4 separate regions of the Homo sapiens genome follow, and regions 1, 3 and 4 are each linked to region 2. The links are contacts of gene promoters, found by promoter capture Hi-C in blood cells and fetal thymus (Javierre and others, 2016). All regions are on one chromosome and are shown on one strand. Each heading gives the region's core, a stretch centred on a gene start or on the middle of the fragment in contact. The rest is flanking DNA. Distances are from core to core; before and after follow the strand shown. Region 1 holds the start of CDC6 (cell division cycle 6). Region 2 holds the start of PPP1R1B (protein phosphatase 1 regulatory inhibitor subunit 1B). Region 3 holds the start of TOP2A (DNA topoisomerase II alpha). Region 4 holds the start of RAPGEFL1 (Rap guanine nucleotide exchange factor like 1).

What was found. The method cuts DNA at HindIII sites, captures the fragments that hold promoters and counts their contacts. A CHiCAGO score of 5 or more calls a contact.
Region 1: the fragment with the promoter of CDC6 here is called in contact with the fragment with the promoter of PPP1R1B in region 2 in 2 of 17 cell types (non-activated CD4 T cells and naive CD8 T cells); the score reaches 9.4 in non-activated CD4 T cells.
Region 3: a contact is called between the fragment with the promoter of TOP2A here and the fragment with the promoter of PPP1R1B in region 2, in 1 of 17 cell types (neutrophils). The highest score is 7.7, in neutrophils.
Region 4: the fragment with the promoter of RAPGEFL1 here is called in contact with the fragment with the promoter of PPP1R1B in region 2 in 5 of 17 cell types (total B cells, fetal thymus, naive CD8 T cells and 2 more); the score reaches 11.3 in total B cells.

What each region holds. Positions count from the first base shown.
Region 1 is chr17:40,284,508-40,290,246 of GRCh38, forward strand. CDC6 (cell division cycle 6) reads left to right here and starts at 3,372. Exons shown (of 12, transcript NM_001254.4): 1 at 3,372-3,583; 2 at 4,901-5,091. The coding sequence starts at 4,914. RefSeq lists enhancers at 3,132-3,939, 3,708-3,887, 3,918-3,987. The HindIII fragment of the contact is 8,752 bases long and covers 1,914-5,739 here.
Region 2 is chr17:39,623,511-39,629,313 of GRCh38, forward strand. It overlaps PPP1R1B (protein phosphatase 1 regulatory inhibitor subunit 1B), which reads left to right and starts at 3,442. Exons shown (of 7, transcript NM_032192.4): 1 at 3,442-3,963; 2 at 5,660-5,720. The coding sequence starts at 3,883. The HindIII fragment of the contact is 16,288 bases long and covers 1-5,803 here.
Region 3 is chr17:40,413,905-40,420,227 of GRCh38, forward strand. TOP2A (DNA topoisomerase II alpha) reads right to left here and starts at 3,992. Exons shown (of 35, transcript NM_001067.4): 1 at 3,867-3,992; 2 at 2,836-2,991; 3 at 2,518-2,608; 4 at 2,101-2,164. The coding sequence starts at 3,887. RefSeq lists enhancers at 3,651-4,176, 3,898-3,987, 5,656-6,198. The HindIII fragment of the contact is 7,280 bases long and covers 1-4,267 here.
Region 4 is chr17:40,175,052-40,180,561 of GRCh38, forward strand. It overlaps RAPGEFL1 (Rap guanine nucleotide exchange factor like 1), which reads left to right and starts at 2,419. Exons shown (of 15, transcript NM_016339.6): 1 at 2,419-3,330. The coding sequence starts at 2,811. RefSeq lists enhancers at 1,298-1,798, 1,799-2,299, 2,691-3,547, 3,548-4,402 and a silencer at 2,331-2,460. The HindIII fragment of the contact is 3,169 bases long and covers 1,337-4,505 here.

The DNA of each region.
Region 1 (5,739 bases), core at 2,122-4,621, 660 kb after region 2:
GAGAGGTAAAGGAACTATGGAAAATGAATTAGAACTAGAAATATGTCAGCCTCAGGATTCTGACTGCCCCAGAGGACAACTGGGGAAATGCTTTGCCTCTGACATCACTGGAGCCCAGTCTGGATCATTTTCACACATAATTGAATTCATTCTCCATTCCTAGGCTTAGGGGTGTGAGACTTAAAAGACTGTATGCTCTCCAGCCACAAGTGTTTATGCAAAGGGTGGATGTCCACTTGGCAAGAATGTCCTTTCCATTCCTTCATTCAGCAAGCTCTTATTGTACACTTTACTCTGTACCAGGCATCTACAATATGAAGATGAAAAGTCTGTTTTTGCCGGGCGCGGTGGCTCACGCCTGTAATCCCAGCACTTTGGGAGGCTGAGGCAGGTGGATCACCTGAGGTCAGGAGTTTGAGACCAGTCTGTCCAATATGGTGAAACCCCGTCTACTAAAATTATGGGCGCCTGTAATCCCAGCTACTCAGGAGGCTGAGGCAGGAGAGTTGCTTGAACCCGGTTGGGTGGAGGTTGCAGTGAGCTGAGATTGTGCCACTGCACTCCAGCCTGGGCGACAGAGCGAGACTCCAAATAAAAAGTCTTTTTTTTTTTTTTCCAACTTGGAAATGGGTCTCCCTATGTTGTCCAGGCTGTCCTCAAACTGGGCTCAAGGGATCCTCCCACCTCAGCCTCCCGAGTAGCTGGAATTACAGATGCATGCCACTGTGCAAGGCTAAGACATGGTCTTTGACTCCAAGGAACTCATAGTTTAGTAGACTTCAGGATAGCTACCAGGAGAAACCTATGCAGGATATTAAAAGGCTTTATGGGAGTTAGCCAGGGAAGATGGATGGTTAGTGGCATTCCAGACAGAGGAAACAGCAAAAACAAAGGCACAGAAGCAAGAAACAATATGATGTGTACGCATCACGTTACTGGAGGATCATTATTAGTGCAAAGGAAAAGCTTCAAGTAGATAACCTTTCAGTCCTGACATTCTGTGATTATTTGCCTGCTTCCACAGTGGTCATTTACACCTGTAGGCTTTTCTTGGGCCACTGCTATGTTTCCTAGTGTCTTCTTTTCTTTTTTTTTTGAGGCGGAGTCTCGCTTTGTCGCCCAGGCCGGAGTGCAGTGGCGTGGCGTGATCTCCACTCACTGCAAGCTCCACCTCCCGGGTTCACACCATTCTCCCGCCGCAGCCTTCTGAGTGGCTGGGACTATAGGCACCCGCCACCACGCCTGGCTAATTTTTTTGTATTTTAGTAGAGACGGGGTTTCACCGTGTTAGCCAGGATGGTCTCGATTTCCTGACCTCGTGATCCACCCGCCTCAGCCTCCCAAAGTGCTGGGATTACAGGCGTGAGCCACCGCACCCAGCCATTTCCTGGTGTTTTCATAGGTTCCAATATGCATGCTAAGTACTCATAGCTTCCTAGGTTGTTTACCATAACCACCCCTTACAGCTGGCTGGGCACACATTACCATTTCAGGTTATTAAGGGCAATTCTTAGGTGCCCATGTTATAAAAATACGAACAGTGAAGGTTGCTTCCTGAGTTCTACTATCCTACTAAGACATCAGAAATACCATCTAGTCCTTTTAAAAGCTTCCACTGTGGCCAAGAGCGGTGGTTCATGCCTGTAATCCCAGCACTGTGGGAGGCTGAGGTGGGTGGATCATGAAGTCAGGAGTTTGAGACCAACCTGGCCAACATGGTGAAACCCCTCTACTAAAAATTCAAATATTAGCCAGGCGTGGTGACGCGTGCCTGTAGTCCCGGCTACTCAGGAGGCTGAGGCAGGAGAATGGCTTGAACCCAGGTGGTGGAGATTGCAGTGAGCCGAGATCATGGCACGGCACTCAAGCCTGGGTGATAAAATGAGACTTGTCTCAAAAATAAAAAAAAAAAAAGCTTCCATTGTGTGGTAACTTTCTCCATTCATGGCAGCCCATTCTCTTCACTTTTGTAGTTTTCAGCTGCTAAAAAGCCTTCACGAAATGTACTCCACCATCTCTTCCTGTTTAGAACCTGAATCTGTCTAATCATCCCCCTATGATAAAGTGGTCAAGAGTTTGATTTTCTGTCAGAGTTCAGAGTTCAAATTCTAGCTCTTCCACTTACTAGTTGTGTGACCTTGGGCAAGTTTACTCAACTCCCCTCTACTGTAGTTCCCTCATTTGTAAAGTGAAATAACACCAGGTTCATGGGGGTGCTTGTGAAGATTAATAAGGTGATGTAGGTAAAATACTGAGCACAGCCCCTGGCATACACTTAAGCACTCAATATTGGCTCTCTTCATGAACTAGGTACCAATTCACTGATGATCGTAATATTGTTGCTTCCCTCTTTCTAGGCTTTATGGCTCTATTTTGTTTGTTACTGAGGGGTAAAAGATAAATGTTTACCATCACCTAGAATTGGGTTCTGGCCTCTAAAGGAACCTGAGGCTTAGATGAATTATTGGCTTTGGAAGCTGGCCTTCAAATTACTGCGCTAATTTATATTTTTCATTAAAAACTCAGCTTGCCTCTTCTATATAGCTGTCTTCCCTGGCCCTGAAACCCTAGTGTTTCGCCATAAAAGATTTTAAAATTAAGGGGTCATAATTCCCTCCCCATGATGTGTGGATTAATGGTAAGAAGATGCACAGAACATAATATTCTTAGGTTGAACGAAATAAAAGTAAAGAGTTGGCTCTGTTTCTCACCTTTGAAGCACAAATCAAGAGATACTATGATGAAGCATAGTTTTTCTTTATATAGGTGTGTAGAACTTTACCATAAAAATCACTAGTTCAGCCATCAGGAGATCTGGATCCTAGGCTCTTCACTGTCACCAAGATGCTGTGACCTCTAACCTTGTATAGAAGTTTGCTTTGTACTTTGCGAGGTTGAGCATTAGAGAGGTAAGGAAAGTGCCTAGCATCATACCTGGCGCACAGAACCCAAAACGGTAGGTATCATGTAGCAGTTCTGAAAATCTAGCCCATCAGGATGATGCAAATGGGTACTTTAGGCAGTGAGAAGGGGAACCACATCTTGACACTTCCAGTCGAAGGAAGAGTGCGACTGCGCGGCAGCAAAGACTACGCCTCCCAGCGTGCTTTGCGGCGGGCCGGCCCGCTTTACCCAGAGTCGCCCTGCCGCAATCGCGCGTCTTTCCACCGAGGCCCCGGATGTAGATTCCCTCCCCCGTTCAGTGGTCGTGGCCTCACAGCGACTCTAAGACTTGGGGCTCTCTCATTGGCTGTAACTCTTCCACTGGATTGGTAGCAAAAAAAGAGGCGGTGCCCAAGGCGAAAGGCTCTGTGACTACAGCCAATCAGAATCGAGGCCGGGCTTTGGCGGGAGGTGGGAACGCTGTGGCCATTCGGATTTGGCGCGAGCGCGGCTGGAGTTTGCTGCTGCCGCTGTGCAGTTTGTTCAGGGGCTTGTGGTGGTGAGTCCGAGAGGCTGCGTGTGAGAGACGTGAGAAGGATCCTGCACTGAGGAGGTGGAAAGAAGAGGATTGCTCGAGGAGGCCTGGGGTCTGTGAGGCAGCGGAGCTGGGTGAAGGCTGCGGGTTCCGGCGAGGCCTGAGGTGAAGTGAAGGGAAAAGAGCTGAGCTCGCTGGAGGTCTGAGGTCGGGATCAGGGAAAGGGCAGGTGCCCTCGGGGTAGTTCTAGCAGTTATGCGTGGTGTGAAGGAGGTGAAAGTTGTAGGAAGGAAATATTCTGGGGTGCGTTGAGAGCTGCCTAGAATGAGGACTGAGTGCAGGGGCGGAAAGAACTGAGGGAAGACTGAGCTGCAGTGTGAGGGCTTGGGATAGAAGAGACTAAATGTGGCGGGTGCTGGGCTGAACTGGTGATAAAGACACCCCGCGTGCCTGGAGGGAGGAAACTAGAAGTTCTATATAAATCAATTCATGTAACTTTTTTTTTTTTTTGAGACGGAGTCTCGCTCTTGTCGCCCAGGCTGTAGTGCAGTGGTGCGATCTCGGCTCACTGCAACCTCTGCCTGCCGGGTTCAAGCCATTCTCCTGCCTCAGCCTCTTCATGTAGCTGGGACTACAGGCGCCCGCCACCACGTCCGGCTAATTTTTTTTTTTTTTTTGAGACGGAGTCTCGCTCGGTCTCCCAGGCTGGAGTGCAGTGGCGCGATCTCGGCTCACTGCAAGCTCCGCCTCCCGGGTTCATGCCATTCTCCTGCCTCAGCCTCCCGAGTAGCTGGGACTACAGGCGCCCACCACCACGCCCGGCTAATTTTTTGCATTTTTAGTAGAGACGGGGTTTCACCGTGTTAGCCAGGATGGTCTCGGCCCGTCTCGGCCTCCCAAAGTGTTGGGATTACAGGCGTGAGCCACCGCGTTTGGCCGTAATTTTTGTATTTTTAGTAGAGACGGGGTTTCTCCATGTTGGTCAGGCTGGTCTCGAACTCCTGACCTCAGGTGATCCGCCCGCCTCAGCCTCCCAAAGTGCTGGGATTACAGGCGTGGGCCACCGCGCCCGGCCCATTTCAGGTAACTTGTTATTGCATCGCTCAATTGGTTAAGAACTTGGGCTCTGGCACCAGATGCCCGGGGTTACATTCCTGTTTTTCTGTGACTTTGGGCCACTGTTTATCTCAGTTTTCTCATGTGTAAAATAAAGGCTAATAATAGTACCTACTCCTAAGATCGTTGTTAAACGAGTTGGTACCTAAAGTGTTTATAACAGCGCCCTTCCACGTAGTAGGTAGACAACAAATGTCAGCTGTTCTTGCATAGATTTGGATGTGAAGCAAAAGTGAATGCTAAAATAAGTGTGATAACATAATTAGGAAATAAGTGTTAATCATCAGTATAAATAAATTCCATGTTAGTTATTTTCTCTTCACTTTCACATATTGACTAGTTGTCCTCTTATTTTTTTTAATCTAGCTGTGCTGTCGTCATGCCTCAAACCCGATCCCAGGCACAGGCTACAATCAGTTTTCCAAAAAGGAAGCTGTCTCGGGCATTGAACAAAGCTAAAAACTCCAGTGATGCCAAACTAGAACCAACAAATGTCCAAACCGTAACCTGTTCTCCTCGTGTAAAAGCCCTGCCTCTCAGCCCCAGGAAACGTCTGGGTAAACCATCCATTATATCACTTTTTCACTAGCAGCTCGTGACCTTTCTTTTCTTGGTAAGATGTGTGTCCTTTGAAGGAGCTTTCTAAGTTCAGTTAAGACTTCTTTTTTTTTTTTTTTTTTTTTTTGAGACAGAGTCTCGCTCCATCTCCCAGGCTGGAGTGCAATAGTGCGATCTTGGCTCACTGCAACCTCCGCCTCCTGGGTTCAAGCGATTCTCCTGCCTCAGCCTCCCAAGTAGCTGGGATTACAGGCGCCCACCACCAAGCCTGGCTAATTTTTTTTTTTTTTTTTTTTGGATTTTTAGTTGAGACAGGGTTTTGCCATATTGGCCAATCTGGTCTCTGAACTCCTGACCTCAGGTGATCCAACTGCCTCGGCCTCCCAAAGTGCTGGGATTATAGGCATGAGCTACCGCTCCTGGCCTAAGACTACTCTTCATTTTAGTTATTTTCAGAATGGTTGCTAAGTGCTTACCGAACTCCAGAGTTAGACACTTACTGAGGTCACTCTGAACTACTTAATAAGTCTGATCTTCAATTCCTTAATACTGAACTTAGTTCTGTCAATGTTTTAAGTTACCTTGTAGTTACATGGTATTATGAAACTTACCTCAATATTTGTGAAATTAAAAGAAACAAAAACGTG
Region 2 (5,803 bases), core at 2,192-4,691:
GCTCAGCTCTGTGGTGCCAAGGTCACGGGTGTGATGCCCAACTCCAGACCCACAGTGCCTGCAGCAGCCACCCAAACCCTGGCCGACTCCGCCACCTGCCGGCTCTTTCTGGAAGCGCATCCCGAGAGCTCTAAGCGGGAACCTCGGTCAAGGGCTATCAGGAACCCTGCCCTGGCGGGGGCTTTATTTTTCTTCCTATTGAATAGTCACAGCCACCATGTGAGGTGGGCTCTGAAGCATAAGGAAACTGAGGCACAGAGAGTAGCTAAGAAATGTGTCCAATTTCACACAGTAAATTACAGATCTGAAATTCTACCCAGGGCTGGGACTTCCCAGTTGATGTTCTGTCCAGGTAAACACATCTTGCTTGGGAGGAGGGAGGGACAGATCCCAGTGTCCCTTCTCCCCCCATCCGGGGAAGAGGGCAAAGGCCTCACACCACCCTCCCAGATTTTCCCTCCAAAGGTGAATGCAGGGCCTCCTGCACGCCAGGCCCCGCGGCAGGCATCCAGCAATGGCGTGAAGATACATGATGGGAAAGAAACGCCTCAAAATAGTGTGCTCAGACCTATGGTACATTAATAGACACCCTACCGTCAACTTTTTCTGTCAGTCCAAGCAGAGAGACCCACAGTTCAATCAGAGTTACGTCAAATGAGGTCTTGAATTTGTTCCTTGGACCCAACCGCCTGTGCTTCTAACCCAAGAATAATAACCAAGGAGTGGCATATTATTTTTACATCTTATTTGCATATGATTAATTCTAAGTCAAAGTGAATGCAGGGCACCCTGGCCCCTTGCTTCTCAGTGCCCTCCCACCCCCACCCTGTGCCTGGTCCTAGCCATCTCCCCCAGCCCCTGCCGGACTCCACTGTCCCCAGCAGCCCCTCCCCACTCCTTGCCCCTGCCCACCCCTCCTCCAGCTCTCAGGAGTCCCATTCCCTTCCTCCTCTGTCGCCCACACAGCCCCCACCACCTGGCCGCCCACCTGAAAAACTTTTCCCCAAGTTCTTGAGAAGTCGCGTAGGATCCAGGAGAGAAAAATCAAAGTAATAAAACCTCATTTAATTCCTAACGGAGGGCAGAGCTGCGAGCTGCAATTATCTTAATGCTGAGCTATTTTTACTCTCTCTCCATCTCTGTCTTCTGCCTTTCTCTGTTGTGAGGTTCGCTGTCTCTCTCTCTGCCTCCCTTTGTCTCTCCATCTCTCAACCATGTTTTCTGTCTCTCTTTGCTTTCTCCTCTCTCCCCCCAATCTCTCTCTCACGTCCTGTCTCTGTGCAGTCTCTTCCTCCTCCTTCATGTCTGTCCCTCTGTCAGCCAGTCTTCCCCACCCTTCTTGGCCCCAGGATTTAGATGCCAGCCTGGCCACAGGCTGGGGGAGATGGGCAAAAACCCTCCCTCCGCTCCCAAAGACCTCATCTTCCAGGCCTAGCTGAGAGGGAGGCTTCTCTGCCCTCATCTCCCTTCTCAGCTGCCCCAGCCTGGGATCCGGGGAATGTTTCCTGATCTGGGGTCTCCCAGAGCTCCAATAAGTTCAGCAGAGCCTCCGTAAATAAGCCCTCCTGCTCAAATGGGGCTCAGCTGCCATGTTCCCTGAGGCCTTTTCAGCTCCTATGGGCTCTGAGGTGCAACTGGTGCTGATGCCTCCCTGTCTCCACCCTCTCATCACCCTCCCAGCTATCCTCTGTCCCCTTCATCCCCACGATCCTTCCCCACACTGCCAGCACTGGAAGCCACAAGCCCCTTCCCCACCTCTGCCCACCCAGTGGCTGTCCGGGCCACTGCCTGGGCCATGCCCTTCCCATACCCCTTCTTCCTTTCAGGACCTCCTTATTTACCCTCCGAAGGCACTGCCAAACAGGTCTTTGCCACTCCCCACCACACCCCATCTTCGACAGAGGTTCTGGGCCAAGCCTAGGGGCTGCCAGAGATGCCTACACCCCTGGGCCAACAACTTATCATCCAGCTGTTTCCCAACAAGTATATAAGTCAACAAACATACAGGGACTTGAGCCAGGCCTGGGGTGGGCTGATGTGGAGCTGGATGGCCAGGACATCCCACTCCTATGAGCAACACTCTGGACCTCCTGCCACCCTTTCCCTCACCCCCAGAGTGGGCCCTGACCCCAATTCCAGAAGATTCCTCTGGCCTTTCACTCCACCCAGGACCCAGATGCTGGGGCTGGGAGTGGAAAAGCTGCAGGAGGATTGGGGGTTTCAGGCCTGAGAGTGACCAGGAGAGAGGACGCCAACACAAACAGAGCCCCAGGAAAACATGCATGTACACGTCTACACACACCCTCTCAGTGCTAGACAGAAGCATTCAGACCCTCTGCACAGCTCCAAGGAGGGAAACAGCAGCTCCTGCAAAGGCACCCAAGGCCCGGACAAATAGACCAAATAGACAGGGACATTCCACCCACAGGGCCAGCTCCTCCCGCTCCCGCTCCAGAGACACACACAAATACCTCTGGAGAGAGAGAGGCTCACACCTGTCTCCCCCAACCCTGCTTCTGAATGCACCAAATTCATGCACGTGATGGCACGTGTACAGGCAGCCCCCAAACCCACCCCAACTCTGGGCCGGCCCTGTCCTCCCCACCCCATTAGATCCGGAGAGGAAAGACAGGAGCCACGTGAATCTACAGTACATCATGGCAGGGCACATTCCCCTTCTCCCTCACAGGAGCGCTCACACATCCACAACCTCATACCCCAGCAACTGCACAGCGGAGCTGTGGATACAGTCCCCCACCCCCTGCAAGCTGGCACACGCCTGCCCATCACCTTGACAGCCTCTGACATCCTCCCCCACACCCACACCCTCCCCCGCACACACGCAGTCCTCCCACACCCTGCCACTCACACCTGCATCTTTGACACTCTGACACACTTACACAGACACACTCACACCACACCGGACCCCCCAAAACACACTCCCTGGCTATGGGCACCACAGGGCCCCGGCACACCCCTGCACACTCTCCCTGCCACGATGACTGACACGTGTCCTCCCACACACAACTCGGTCACACTCGCTCCCTTTCCAGGACACCCCCATTCACAGCGTGACAGGCTGGTACTCTCCCCACGACCTCGCAGGCCTCTCTGAAACTCCCAGTACCAGGACCACGAAGGGGTTAAAGCCAGAGTCCTGCCTCCCCGCTGCCCCTCTCCCCCTCCCTCCCCCTTTATCCTCTCTGCTGGACTCCATCAATAATGCAGCTTCAAGTTCTGGGGAGACCGCAGGGGGCCCCCCAGCTGGCTCCCCAGGCCTTGGCTCTAACTCCCACCCTCCTCCCAGCCCCAGGAGAACACGATTCTCCATGCTCATTGGCCAGTTTCCCCTAAACCCTCCCTCCGAGCACCCGGGCGCCAGTCCCAGGCGGAGGGGACGGGCTGGGGACCCCAAAGCTGGGACCGGAGGGTGAGCCCGGCAGAGGCAGAGACACACGCGGAGAGGAGGAGAGGCTGAGGGAGGGAGGTGGAGAAGGACGGGAGAGGCAGAGAGAGGAGACACGCAGAGACACTCAGGAGGGGAGAGACACCGAGACGCAGAGACACTCAGGAGGGGAGAGACACCGAGACGCAGAGACACCCAGGCCGGGGAGCGCGAGGGAGCGAGGCACAGACCTGGCTCAGCGAGCGCGGGGGGCGAGCCCCGAGTCCCGAGAGCCTGGGGGCGCGCCCAGCCCGGGCGCCGACCCTCCTCCCGCTCCCGCGCCCTCCCCTCGGCGGGCACGGTATTTTTATCCGTGCGCGAACAGCCCTCCTCCTCCTCTCGCCGCACAGCCCGCCGCCTGCGCGGGGGAGCCCAGCACAGACCGCCGCCGGGACCCCGAGTCGCGCACCCCAGCCCCACCGCCCACCCCGCGCGCCATGGACCCCAAGGACCGCAAGAAGATCCAGTTCTCGGTGCCCGCGCCCCCTAGCCAGCTCGACCCCCGCCAGGTGGAGATGGTAAGGGGCCCGTGCCCCACCCCGGCAGCGTACCCGACACACCCCGCGGGGCTTCTTCGCCCTCCCAAGGCGCTGCCCCGGCCGGACTGGCCTGGGGGTGGGGGCGCAAGGAGAGCCGGGCTCTGCCTCGGTCAGGACGGGGCGCGGGGCCGCGTGTGAAGTTAGCTGGAGACTCGTGCAACTTTTCCCCGCGGCTTTGGTCCTGATCCCGGGGCAAGAGAGTTCCTGGCAGTGAGGCTGGGGGTGCGGGGGTGGGGGGACAGGCCGATTCCAGACCGCCCAGGAGTGGGGTGGGGGCGTCCTTTGGTCCCAGCACAGTCCCCAAAGGGTAGTCAGTCTCCTAGGCTACCACCGGGACCGCTCCGCCTGGCTCTGTCCCAGAGCTGGTCAGATGTGAGCAGCGGTGGACACTGACCTTGTCACCCAGGGCAGGAGTATGAGGCTGCCACCGGGTGAATCCACTACCCTGCCCCTCTCTAATCCCGCGTGTGTGCCTGGGCTGGGGTCTCCAGAACCTGGCTCTGGCCTCCTGCTGTCAGGCCCCAGAGCCCCAACCCCAAGGAGGGAGAGGTGGGGAGTCATCACAAAGCCAGACCTCTTCCCACAGACTACTGAGTCCTCCTGAGGGCCTTCTTGGGGGTTGAGGGGCTTCCAAAGGCTGGCGGGTGCTGTGACAGAGAGCTCCACTTCCCATCCCTAGTGGAGCAGGGGTCACTTGTTGCTGAGCTGAGATGCAGCTGGCTCCCCACTGAGCAGTGATGAGGGGGCCAAGTCATTATGGGGGGAGATAGAGGGCAGGGGGTACAGTCCTGGGCCTAAGCAGCTTTGGGTCATGAGGGTGTCATGGGGAGCTTGGCTGGGGAGGTGGCAGTTTCAGCTTAACTCACCTGGTTCTCTTTGTGCATTTCCCTGGAGCTCAACAGGGACCTAATTAACTGACAGTTGGTCTGATTGCCAAGCTGAGGGGCGGGGCGGGGAGGGGGGCGGTCAGTTGCTGCTTGGCTCACGTAGCAAGGAGGGCAACTTTTCATTTCTCACAAGGACTGGGTGAAGAGTTCTGCAGCCTTACAGAGACTGGAAAAGAAGCCCAAACCAAGGCCCCCAGAGAGGTCCCCCAGGCCCCTTTGGGTCCCTGAGCCTCAGCTGGAGGTGGGGGGTGCCTGCAGTGCGCTGGCTCAGTCTCCTTCTGAAAAGCTGGATCCAGCTTGTTTGAAGCCCTTGAGCTGATCTTAGGTGGGCAGGGCCACATGGGTGCCATGGCCCGTGGGGCATCTTCCCCAGAGGGCCCAGCCGTGGCAGCTGGAGCTGTAGCCAGCTTTGGCTTCCGAGGTCTGATGTTTTCAGAAACTGGAGAGAGGAAGGGCCTTGGTGGGAGAAGATAGGAAGGGAGATGTCTGTTCTGGAGTAGCCATGGAGTGGGACAGGCATGGGCTGGGAGTCAGTGACTGGGGTTTTTCTCGTCCTTTGGACTTGTTGTGCTGTGTGGCCTTAAGCACATTGCCAAATCTCTCTGAGCCCTGCTTTTTCACCTCTGTAAAATGAGGGGGTTAGGTGAGCTACAGAGTTCCTTTTGGCTCTGACAGACTTTGATTCAAAGGTTCCCTGGGGACTCCAAAGCACTGTTTGTTCCCTGCTGCCTGGGGGTGGGGGAGGGCTGCAGGTGTCCATCCAGTCACCCCTCCCTCCATCTCCTTAGATCCGGCGCAGGAGACCAACGCCTGCCATGCTGTTCCGGCTCTCAGAGCACTCCTCACCAGGTAGGCCCCTCCCTGCCCACTTAGCCCTGGCCCCACCCTAGCTCTGATGCCTTCCTAGGGGCCCTGCCAAAGTCCCATGAACA
Region 3 (6,323 bases), core at 2,742-5,241, 790 kb after region 2:
GGAGAACTGCTCAAAGTGTTGGGGTTATAGATGTGAGCCACCATACCCAGCCCTCAATTTTTTTGGCACTTTTCATATATACCTTCTGAAATTCAGCAGGAACATTTCCCACCATGCTTAGTTCCTGACATTCCTGAAATAGGAGTCAAGAGGAAAAAAAAACCTTTTCCAACACCTGAATAGACACTGATAATGTTGAAAAAATACAAAATTTTAAAATGTTAGGATAAACAGAGGGAAATGATTTATGCCCAATGGAAAGAAAAGGACAATCTGGAAACATTATTATACACCACTCCCACTCCTTTTTTGAGACAGCATCTCGCTCTGTCACCCAGGCTGCAGTGTAATGGCAGGATCACAGCTTACTGCAGTCTTGACCTCCTGGGCTCAAGCAATCCTCCCACTTCAGCCTCCTGAATAGCTGGGACTACAGGTGTCCATCACCACACCTGGCTAATTTTTAAATTTTTTGTAGAGATGAGGGTCTCACTATATGGCCCAGGCTGGTCTCAAACTACTCCTGGGCTCAACTGATCCTCCCACCTTGGCCTCCCAAAGTGCTGGGATTACAGGAGTGAGTCATCATGCCTATTATACCCCTTTCAAGAGGATCATCTATACATCTCGTTCCCACTCAACAAAGTACATAAAAACAGGCTGGGCGCAGTGGCTCACGCCTGTAATCCCAGCAATCCCAGCACTTTGGGAGGCTAAGGCAGGCAGATCACTTGAGGTCAGGAGTTCGAGACCAGCCTGACCAACATGCAGAAACCCCATCTCTACTAAAAAAAATACAAAATTAGCCAGGTGTGGTGGTGTGCGCCTGTAATCCCAGCTACTCTGGAGGCTGAGGCAGGAGAATTGCTTGAACCCAGGAGGTGGATGTTGCGGTGAGCCGAGATCATGCCACTGCACTCCAGACTGGGCAATAAGAGCAAAACTCCATCAAAAAAAAAAAAAAAAAAAAGGAAAACCAATATCAATCATAAACTGCCTTGCTCTCAAATAAAATGCTGAAAACTTATTTCAGTTATTTTAAGTTAATTCTTGGATGGTACTATATTTTAGTTAATAACTCGATATACATTATGGTTCTTGTTCTACATAGTACTTATTATCTATAAAAAAAACTAATTAAAATTAGCTCAACTTTTTTTTTTTTTTTGAGACAGAGTCTTGCTGTGTCACCCAGGCTGGAGTGCAGTGGTGCAATCTCGGCTCACTGCAAGCTCCACCTCCCGGGTTCATGCCATTCTCCTGCCTCAGCCTCTCGAGTAGCTGGGACTACAGGCGCCCACCACTACACCCGGCTAATTTTTTGTATTTTTAGTGGAGACAGGGTTTCACCGTGTTAGCCAGGATGGTCTTGATCTCCTGACCTTGTGATCCGCCCGCATCGGCCTCCCAAAGTGCTGGGATCACAGGCATGAGCCACCGTGCCTGGCCCTAGCTCAACATTTTTTAAAGACTATGATATTGAGTCCTTAGGAAAATCCAGGTATACTTTGTCATAATCAATCAGACTAACAAAAAAGTGAAATAAGCACCCTGATCACCCACTAAGGGACACCCCGCATTTATAAGCAGAAATGTCAGATCAAATTATTCTCTACCACCACCTACTGGTTTACTGTTTGAATAGCATCATGAGAAAAAGTTAAAACTCCAGATGCCAGAATACTTAAAGCAATTACTGAAGGTGCTTGCTCAAATATTTAGGGATTAGGTGTCATAAGTCCTGTAATTTATTTTGAAATGATCCAGAGCAAATAGGCCGCGTGCCATGGCACACACCCATAATGCCAACACTGGAGGATTGCTTCAGGCCAGGAGTTCTAAGACCAGCCCAGGCAAAATAGCAAGACCCCTTCCTCTAAAAAAATTAACTAATTAAAAAAAAGATGGAGAAAATATGGAAAAACGTTGGCAACTGTTGGATCTAGGTGGTGGGTATCCATAGGTTTTTCATTTTAGCATTCTGCTTTTGTGTACTTTTCTCAACTTCTGTTTAGGAAAAGCCAACTTCACCAGTAATCAAAATACATGCAGCTAACAATAGCAACGAGCTACATAACAAAAACTAAGCAAAAGACGTACGGATCAATTGTGACTCTAATACAAGACATTTTTGGGTCCCTTTGTTTGTTGTCCGCAGCATTAACTGAAAGAAAATAAAATATACATTTGTAAGAAATTAGTGTTTTAAGAAACATTCTGTAACTCTAAGTAAGATATAGAAAAAAAAGTTCCCAAACAGCACAGGAGTGGCATTAACAAGGTGTTAATTTAGCAATTTTTGTCCATAGTACTGTTTCTACGAGAAGCTCAACCTCCTGGGCTCCAGGAAACCAGCTCACCTTTATCAACTGATTGAAATGACAGGAGCCCTGGCTACAGCAGGTTTGGTAGAAATGATACTTTTTGTTTTTACTTTTATCTTTTTTAAATTTTTATTTGGAATGATACTTCTTATGAAAGATTTGACCAGATCTTTATATTAAAGGATTTACTCACCTAGAATCTCATCAAAGATTTTGTACAAACCAGGAACAAAAGTGACTTCCCTATAGTTAATGCCAACATCTTCATCGTAAACCCACATTTGCTAGAAATAAGGCAAAGAAATACTGTTATTTTTATTCTATATTCATTGTTCTGTTATCATGATTACCATAAAGTGTTCATATTAAGTATTACCATATTTAGGCCAGTTCCAGTGACACTCAGTACATGAGAGATACAGAAAGGTCACACTCAGTACATGAAAGGTACAGAAAGAAGAGTATCCATTTCAACTACTAGGTTAACTGCCTTTGATGAGCTTGATTTTACCTGGGTCACTAATTCCACAGAACCAATGTAGGTGTCTGGGCGGAGCAAAATATGTTCCAATTGTGTTTTCTTTTGATAGATTCTTTCAACAGACAGTCTTTTCTTAGCATCTTCATTTTTCTTTATTTTGTTGACTTGCATATTTTCATTTACAGGCTAGCAATTAAAAAAAAAGAGAGAAAGAAGGGAATTTTTAATCATAAGTTTACCCTAAACTAGGAACAAAATGCCTACCATAGTGAGATGTCAACATGCATTGCAATCTGTTAGTAGGCAGTGGTGGAGTTGCCAGTTTTGTACAAATAGGACAATTTAAATTCGCTGCGGCCAGGTCCCCAGGTGTCAGGTTAAACAGACACATATTATCTCACCAAGTGGGTCTGTCTGGAAACCTCTTTTCTTGAGCAACATGGTAGATGTCATCAATAAAATACACCCACTTCTTTCAGTTCCTGCATACATTATTTACCGAGTGCCTATTATTATAAATTATTTACGGTGTCCCGAGCACACGACACCGTAAATAATTCTAGTTCGGCAGCAGCAGTTTGGGCGGCTATCCGTTCAATCCCTTGGCCACCTGAGCGTTGTGAACTCAGGAAGGGGGCGCTTTTGTAAGCTGGCCAGCTGCTCCAGAGAAACACTGTGCTAGGCTCTGCCCTTTCCAAGATCGGGGACATTCAAGACCGTTTTCAAGCAGCGGGCAGGAGGGGAAAGCATCTGTACGCGCGACTCAATAACGTCGCACCCGGGCCGCTGTAACATGGATCCACTACGGGACCAACGGACTCCTGCCCCTAGAAACAGGGCAACAACGCACGACACCCTGGAAGCCGGGTCATACTTCACTACTAGCACCAGAAGGGGCTTCCGCCTCTCCACGATCACCCCGGAACCGGGAATGGAGAATATGGGCTCCCAAGCCGGTCGCCGGCCTGACCGCAGCCCCAGAGCTTCACCCGTCACGGGCGGCCAGAGAGATGCCCGGGCCGCGCGGAGGCTCCACCGCCAGTCCCCCCCGCGAGCCGTACCTGCAATGGTGACACTTCCATGGTGACGGTCGTGAAGGGGCTCAAGAACCCTGAAAGCGACTAAACAGGCAGGACCCCACGAGACCACCCCCGACCAAGCCGCTTCTCCACAGACGCGCGTCGGTTAGGAGAGCTCCACTTGAACCTTCCTTTAGCCCGCCCGAAGCAGACCAGCCAATCCCTGACTCGCTCTCACCGTCTCCGTCCAGAAGAACCAATCGTAGCTTGCCTTTTATATCCACCTATGAACGGCTGAGTTGGCCGGGGTTTGTTTGAATAAACCAATCAGGTTAGGGAGGCGGGACTAGAGAGGCTTCAAAAGGCACCACTCGGCGTCATAGCGGAGAGATTGACAGGGAATCTGGCCAATGAGAAGGGCTCACTTGTTTTCTCGTGCGGAAAGCTTGGAAGAGATGGGCTTTGGAAGCGGGAAGGGGTGGCCTGAGGCAAAAGTGTGCAGGAGAAAAGCAAAGGATGTTTATTCTCCAGGAACTGCCAATCTATTTAAGATCCCTGAAATCTAAAAACTGTCCTCTGTTCTGACGTTGTTAGCGAGGGGAATGGGAGCCTTAGCTTCGTTTTCCTGAGGAAACTGAGTGCCGGCTTTCTGGACAGGCAGCCTGGCTGCTTGGTTGAAGCGAACAGATTCTGGCATCTGCCTCAACCCCGCCCCCTTTACCCTCGAATTCATTTTTCAAAGAAATAAAAGTAGGCTGTGTGCGGTGGCTGGAGTCTGTATTCGCAGCACATTGGGAGGCCGAGGCGGGAGGATCGCTGGAGCCTAGGAGTTGGAGACCAGCCTGGGCAACATAGCGAGACCCCGTCTCTACCCAAAAAGGAAAAAAAATAGCCAGGCGAGGCATCGCACACCTGTAACTCCAGCTCCGGAGGCTGAGGAGGGAGGATCGCTTGAGCCCCGGGGATCGGAGATCGAGGCGCCTTGAACCGTGATTGCTCCACTGCACTCCAGCCTGAGTGACAGAGCGAGGCCACCTCAAGAGATAAATACATAAATAAATAAATAATAAAAATAATTAAAATAAAAGTGCCACAGTTGTGGTTTGGGGGTTCCATATAGTGGAAGGATGTAGAAAGGCTTTGCAAAATGGAGGGCAGCATTCAGGTCCCCAGTAGAGCAGCGCTGGACTGCAACTGGTAAATCGAAAGGGATAACTTGTGGTGGTAGCCTCTTGAGCTGAGGGTGGGCTCAGCCGTCCGGGGCTGAAACCTTTTCCGCAGCCAGCTGGCCAGATACCCTCCGACTGGCTACTTTTGCTCACCTCCGTGAACCCTGCAGTCCAGAACAGCTGTTCCAATTTGACAAGGAAATGCCAAGACTGAAGCTTTTTTGTTTGCTTGTTTTTTTGTTGCTTTTTTTTTTTTTGAGATGGAATCTCACTCTGTCGCCCAGGCTGGAGTGCAATGGCGCGATCTAGGCTCACTGCAACCTTCACCTCGCGGGTTCAAGCGATTCTCCTGCCTCAGCCTCCCGTGTAGCTAGAATTACAGGCGCCTGCCACCACGCCTGGCTAATTTTTGTATTTTTTTAGTAGAGACAGGGTTTTGCCATGTTGACCAGGTTGGTTTCAAACTTCTGACCTCAAGTGATCTGCCCGCCTCAGCCTCTCAAAGTGCTGGGATTACAGGTGTGAGTCACTGTGCCCGGCGAAGACTGAAGTTTTAAAATTACTCTTACATATAAATGTTTGAGTGGATTAAACAAAGTTATTACCCTTACAAGAAGCCAGAAAAAAAAAAACTGCACAATTTGAGTGCCTACTAATTCCAGCTGAGCCACCTCTTTCCATTCATTGCTTCCTTCCTCTACCTGGGTTTCAGTCCCAACTCAGCAATTTGCCATTCGTGTCATTTCGATGGAGGAAGCCTCTCGGTGCTTCCGTTTCCTCTCCTAAAAAGAATAATTAACTATGATCTCAGAGTAGTGTGAGGGTTACATGAGAGAAGTGTAAGGTAAACAGTGGGCTGACAGTATTAGGTAGCAGGAATTTTCCTTAGGCTGGTGTGACAATTGTGGATGTAATTTTTTTTTTCTTCTTCTAAAAGAAACCAGAGGTCAACCATTGTTACATAACCACAGTGTGTCAAGGGAGGGCCAATGGGGAGCCGTATGATGTGGCAGGAAGCCAAGGATGGAAGTTGCCCATGGGCTAGGGGCACTCGGAAACCATAGGCATGGTGCTTCGGCATTGTTCTGCTCTCTTGACCTTTGGCTCCCTGGCCTCCAGCAGTCTCTGCGTGTTCCCAGCTCTGCTCTGCTCACCACATGTGTTAGAGAGCACAGGACCACCAGGGGCTCAGAGCAGTGGTAGGGAAGCTTGGCCAGTAGCCTCTGCTCAGCCAGAAGACTGACCAGGCCCTGGGATCCAGGGCCTGCATGCCACTCTCTGCAGGACACCCGAGGGCCCTGACAGAAACCAGCCATGCTGGCTTCTACCT
Region 4 (5,510 bases), core at 1,169-3,668, 550 kb after region 2:
GTCAGCTCCCAGCATCTGCAGCCCACTTGGGTTGACTGTCCGTCTAGGGCAGTGATTTTCAATCCTGGCCATTTGTGTCATGTGAGGAGCTTTTTAAAAAATACCATAAGCCTTCGCCCTGGTTCAGAAATCTGATTTAATTGGTCTGAGATATGGCCTAGGCATCAGTTTTTTTTTTGTTTGTTTGTTTTTTTTTTTTTTGAGACAGTCTTGCTCTTGTTGCCCAGGCTGGAGTGCAGTGGCATGATCTCGGCTCACTGCAGCCTCCACCTCCCGGGTTCAAGCGATTCTCCTGCCTCAGCCTCCTGAGTAGCTGAGATTACAGGCACCAGCCACCATGCCCAGCAAATGTTTGTATTTTTAGTAGAGACAGGGTTTCACTATGTTGGCCAGACTGGTCTCGAACTTCTGACCTCATGTTGCACCCTTCTCGGCCTCCCAAAGTACCGGGATTATAGGCGTGAGCTGTTGCACTTGGCCAGTATTTTTTTTTTTTTTTTAATATGGAGTCTCTCACCCAGGCTGGAGTGCAGTGGCATGATAACAGCTCACTGCAACCTTCACCTCCCAGGTTCAAGCAATCCTTCTACCTCAGCCTCCAAAGTAGCTTGGATTACAGGTGTGTGCCACCATGCCCGGCTAATTTTTTTTGTATTTTTAGAAGTGGGGTTTCACCATGTTGGTCAGGCTGGTCTTGAACTCATGACCTCAAGTGATCTGCCCGCCTTGGCTTCCCAAAGTGTTGAGATTACAGGCGTGAGCCACCAAGCCCAGCCAGCATCAGTATTTCTGAGAAGCTTCCCTGTGATTCCAGTGTGTAGTCAGGGTGAAAACCACTGCCACTCCAGGAGGACCATGACTTGATGCTGGCTCTCCTCACTGATTCAAAATGTTGAACTTAGTCTCTGCCTGACATCCTTGAGCATTTGGGGGAGTACTGGGGTCCTGTGTCCCAAGCTTCTAGCTTCCAGAAGTCTCTCAGTCTGTTTTATTTTCAACCCCCTACACCCTTCACACTCCCCAATTCGCCCTTCCTAACCAACAATTCCCAAATCCTGCCCAGAGAGAAGGTTACCAAGGCAACCGGCTTAATCTGGTAACTGTGGCATGTGCTGGGAGAGAAGCCCTTCCCTCTTCCTATTCAGTTCATAAAATGCTACCTGGGGAGCTCCAACCCATTCCAGCCACTTTCCCCTTTCAAGCCAGGGGATATTGGAGTGTCCAATAAGGGGAGCACAGGAAGCTGATACTCAGACCTCTAATACAGCTTCTTAGCCAAAATTGTGCGCTGTCTTCTTTTTACTGTTTCCAAATCCACAAACAGATGGGTGTGCAAAGCTTTATTTCTGTGAACACATGCTCTAGCACACATGGGAACAGATATGCACATACATTGATACGTATGTCATACACACCCTGTTCAGTTTTACTACCACTCCCAGCCATTAGCATTCCTGTCTCTGCCTGGTTGGTGCTCGGTAAACAGGGGTGGGGCATTGTCCAGAGAGCCTCAACCCATCGAGAACCTGCTGCCACTCCCACACCTTGTAAGTCTAACCTGGATGTTCTCACACTTAGCATGGCTTTACGATGCACCCCCCTCCTCCCCCACACTCCTTCTGGGGCAGCATATCCTTAAGGACAGAATGCTCCTGGTGTGGGCATCAGGAGTAAGGATTACTTGGAGTGCTAATTGGCACCACTTTTCCCACTCCATGGCCATGTACACTTGGGCTCTGTGCTTGATGATAGTCGGCAGTTCTGGGGCTTGTCACCTGTCTCCATGGCCCTGCTTCCTTCTGCTGCCAGCTGGGCTCAGGTGCCCTTGTGCTCCTGGTCTCCTCCCCACTGCCTATTATCCCCTCCTCACCCCAGCTAGACCTGCCACAACCTGCTGCTCCCTGCCTGGCTCCTACCTGCCTGCCAGTACCTGCCCACAGACCAGGCCCACACCACCTATTGTGCCCTACCAGAGAGGACAGATGGGCACCGCCTCCAGTGGCAATGCTAATTCACCCAAGAGGCCTTCCCAGCTCTTCTCACAGAAGGAAGATAAACTCCACATATTTCTGTGAGTATGAGAAAGGTGCACACTCTTGGGTTCAGCAATCTGTAGGCCTGACTTGGGTACACAGGTAGGTGAGTGAAGGTGTCCAGGCCACAGACCTGTCCTGACTCTTTGAAATGATGCTGAGACCCGGTTATCCCTTGAGCCAGGAATCCTTCCCCATTGGTAAATCTCTGACTTACCTTTGCCCTTAATTTCTTCTGCTTAGAACCCAAGTCCCTTACTGTTTCCCTCGCGGTCAACCCCAGCGCGCGAGTTCAAGCCTCGTGCGGCGCGGGGGCGAGCCGAGGAAGGGTAGGGGCGGGGACTGGGCGGGGACTGGAGGAGGGGGCGCGGTCTCGGTTCTGCCACCTTCCCCCTCTTCACGGCCAGGAGCGCAGCCGCCGCCGCCGCCGCCGCCGCGTCCTCTCAGCCTTGCGCTCCGCCCGCTGCCTCTGCCGCCGCAGCGCAGAGCCGGGCGCACCGGCCCCGCAGCCTGCCCACTCTTCGGGCCGCGTGCCGGCTGCAGCCGGCATGGGGGGTTGCTGAGAGCGAGCACTCCTTTCCTCTGGCACCTCCCCCGGCTACTGGCCACTGGACTCTGGCCAGCGAGGCTCGGCCCCTCTGGCCCCCAGTCTGGCGCCTGGCACGGCCCTCTACTCTGCTCCTCCAGCTCTGAGCATCGTGTCTTCGCCGCCCCCCCCGCCCGCGCCTGGGATACCTGGGTCCCCCGGCGACCCCTAGGAGAGGGGCGGGGGGGGGCATGAAGCCGCTGGAGAAATTTCTGAAGAAGCAGACGTCGCAGCTGGCGGGCCGAACGGTGGCGGGAGGTCCCGGCGGGGGTCTGGGGAGCTGCGGTGGGCCTGGAGGGGGTGGGGGACCCGGCGGGGGCGGCGGTCCAGCCGGGGGACAGCGGTCGTTGCAGCGGCGTCAGAGCGTGTCTCGCCTGCTGCTCCCCGCTTTCCTCCGGGAGCCCCCCGCCGAGCCGGGGCTGGAGCCGCCCCCTGAGGAGGAAGGAGGAGAGCCGGCGGGGGTCGCGGAGGAGCCGGGCAGCGGGGGGCCCTGCTGGCTGCAGCTGGAGGAGGTGCCGGGGCCCGGGCCTCTCGGGGGAGGGGGGCCCCTGCGCTCCCCTTCCTCCTACTCATCTGACGAGCTGTCCCCAGGCGAGCCCTTGACTTCGCCGCCCTGGGCCCCTCTGGGCGCCCCCGAGCGGCCCGAGCATCTTCTGAACCGGGTTCTGGAGCGGCTTGCTGGAGGGGCTACCAGGGACAGCGCCGCCTCAGGTAAGGAGCCGGTGGGCTCGAACACCCAGAGCAGGGGCTGGCCCCGGCTCCTCTTCCTTGCCCTTGGAGCGTAGGGGTGGCGCCGTGCCGGGGCTTGGTTATAGGGTTGAGTGGTCCGCGGAAGCCGGCTAGGGGCCTAGCGGAGGTACAGACCCTCCCGCGGAAGAGGAGAGCAGTACTCACCTTCCTCCCTACAGCAGCCTCACCCTCGTCTGGAGAAGCAGCTGAGCCTCTTACTCTCCTTCAGCCACCCTTCCTTTCCCCTGGGCATTGGAGCCACTGACTCCCATGGGTCCCTGATGTTGAATACCTCCTCCTGTGGCCCCAAATTAGGGCCTGACACATTAAAATGGGAGCTGCCCAGCGCAGCCATGCCACCCGCCAGAGGTGCTTTAGCCCTGAAAACCCTGGGGTCCCTGACTGTTCAGAGGCCTACACAGCGCAGGCTGACCCACCCAGGGAGGCAGTGCCAGACAGGCACAGGCCCCAAGCTGCCTTTTAGGCATCAGCAAAGGGATGCGTTGTCCTTAGCAGTTTGGTGGGGGGGATAGTATTCTCCTTGGGCTGGACTCAGAAGGTGTCTGGGAGGGGAGAGGTGGCTGGGCCGGCATCATGGCCCTGCAGCATCCAGGGTGTCCAAGCGCCTCCAGCTTCCACCCTTCGGTGGCAGGCCTCAGCACCCGGCTTTTTTTTTTTTTTCTTTTGGAGATGTAGTCTCACTGTCACCCAGGCTGGAGTGCAGTGGCGCCATCTCAGCTCACTGCAACCTCCACCGCCCAGGTTCAAGCGATTCTCCTGCCTCAGCCTCCTGAGTAGCTGGGACTACAGGCATGTGGCACCACGCCTGGCTAATTTTTGTATTTTTAGTAGAGACAGGGGTTTCACCGTGTTAGCCAGGATGGTCTCGAACTCCTGACCTCGTGATCCACCTGCCTTGGCCTCCCAAAGTGCTGGGATTACAGGCGTGAGCCACTGGCCTGGCTAATTTTTGTAGTTTTAGTAGAGACGGGGTTTCGGGGTTTCACCAACTTGGTCAGGCTGGTCTTGAACTCCTGACCTCGTTATCTACCTCCCCCCACCCCCACCCCACGGCCTCCCAAAGTGCTGGGATTACAGGCGTGAGCCACCGGACCTGGCACACGGCCTCTTTAAAATATAATCACCACACCCTGAGAAGCTTATTCCCTAAATGATGATACTATTTCACCACTCCCTTTCAGCACCCCTACTAAGGGGCCTTTGAGGAAACCAAGGCCCCAAATCTGGTTAGTTCTGAGGTAGAAGACCGAGGGTTCTTTAGGTCTAGCTCTAGGCATTACTCTAAGCCCAGGAGGGTCTGAGGTTTGGGAGCCCCGGCTGAGGCCCTAATGGTGAGGGCTTTCACACTTGCTCTCAGCCCTCGGCAGGGAACCCCAACCTAGATGTGTGGAGGGGGGCTCCACTCTCCTAGATCCTTCTCAAGACCTGGGTCCTCTCCTTTGGAGCAGGCTGTAGTTGCCCTGGGGAGCTGACACCTTTTGGATTTAATTAGAAAAATATCAGACACACACAGCTCTCCTAACCATAACTTCCCGCCTACACCACACACCCTGTGTCTCTATGACACATTCCCTAGGGAGGCTGTACATTGGCCCAGAGCCTGCTTTGGAAAAGACAGATGCCCAACTGTGGCCCCCATATCAGCATCTCCCCAACTCTGCCCCATCTTACTCTTCCTTTGCTCCAGCTTAGGAATCCTGTGAGATAAAGTCTATGAAGGATGTCAGGCCTCTCGTTTCCTCACCCTCATCCCTGAAGCTGGGGGTCAGAGCTGGAGGCTCTCTGACTCATTGTAAGAACACAGCAGGGTAGCTGGGCAGGGAGGAAAAGGGAGAAGCTGTCTTTCCCCTTTTACAGGGGCCTGGTGCCACACGCTCCGCTCATTCTCCCCTGGGGTAAGACTCCTGAAATGTCACCCATGTTATCTGGCAGCCTGGATCCCCAGAGTAACTAGTTTGGGAAATTCCAAACCAGTCCCAGGTGAATGAGAATCAGCTTAACCTGCCACTCTGATGTTCTCCAATAAAACCAATGTTCTCAAGTCATCCTGGTCTCCTCCCAGGGTGTGTGGGAGGAGAGAACTTACAGAAGTTACTCTGAACCTACCAAAGCCTCTCCAACGTCCAAGCAGCCCCCTCTGA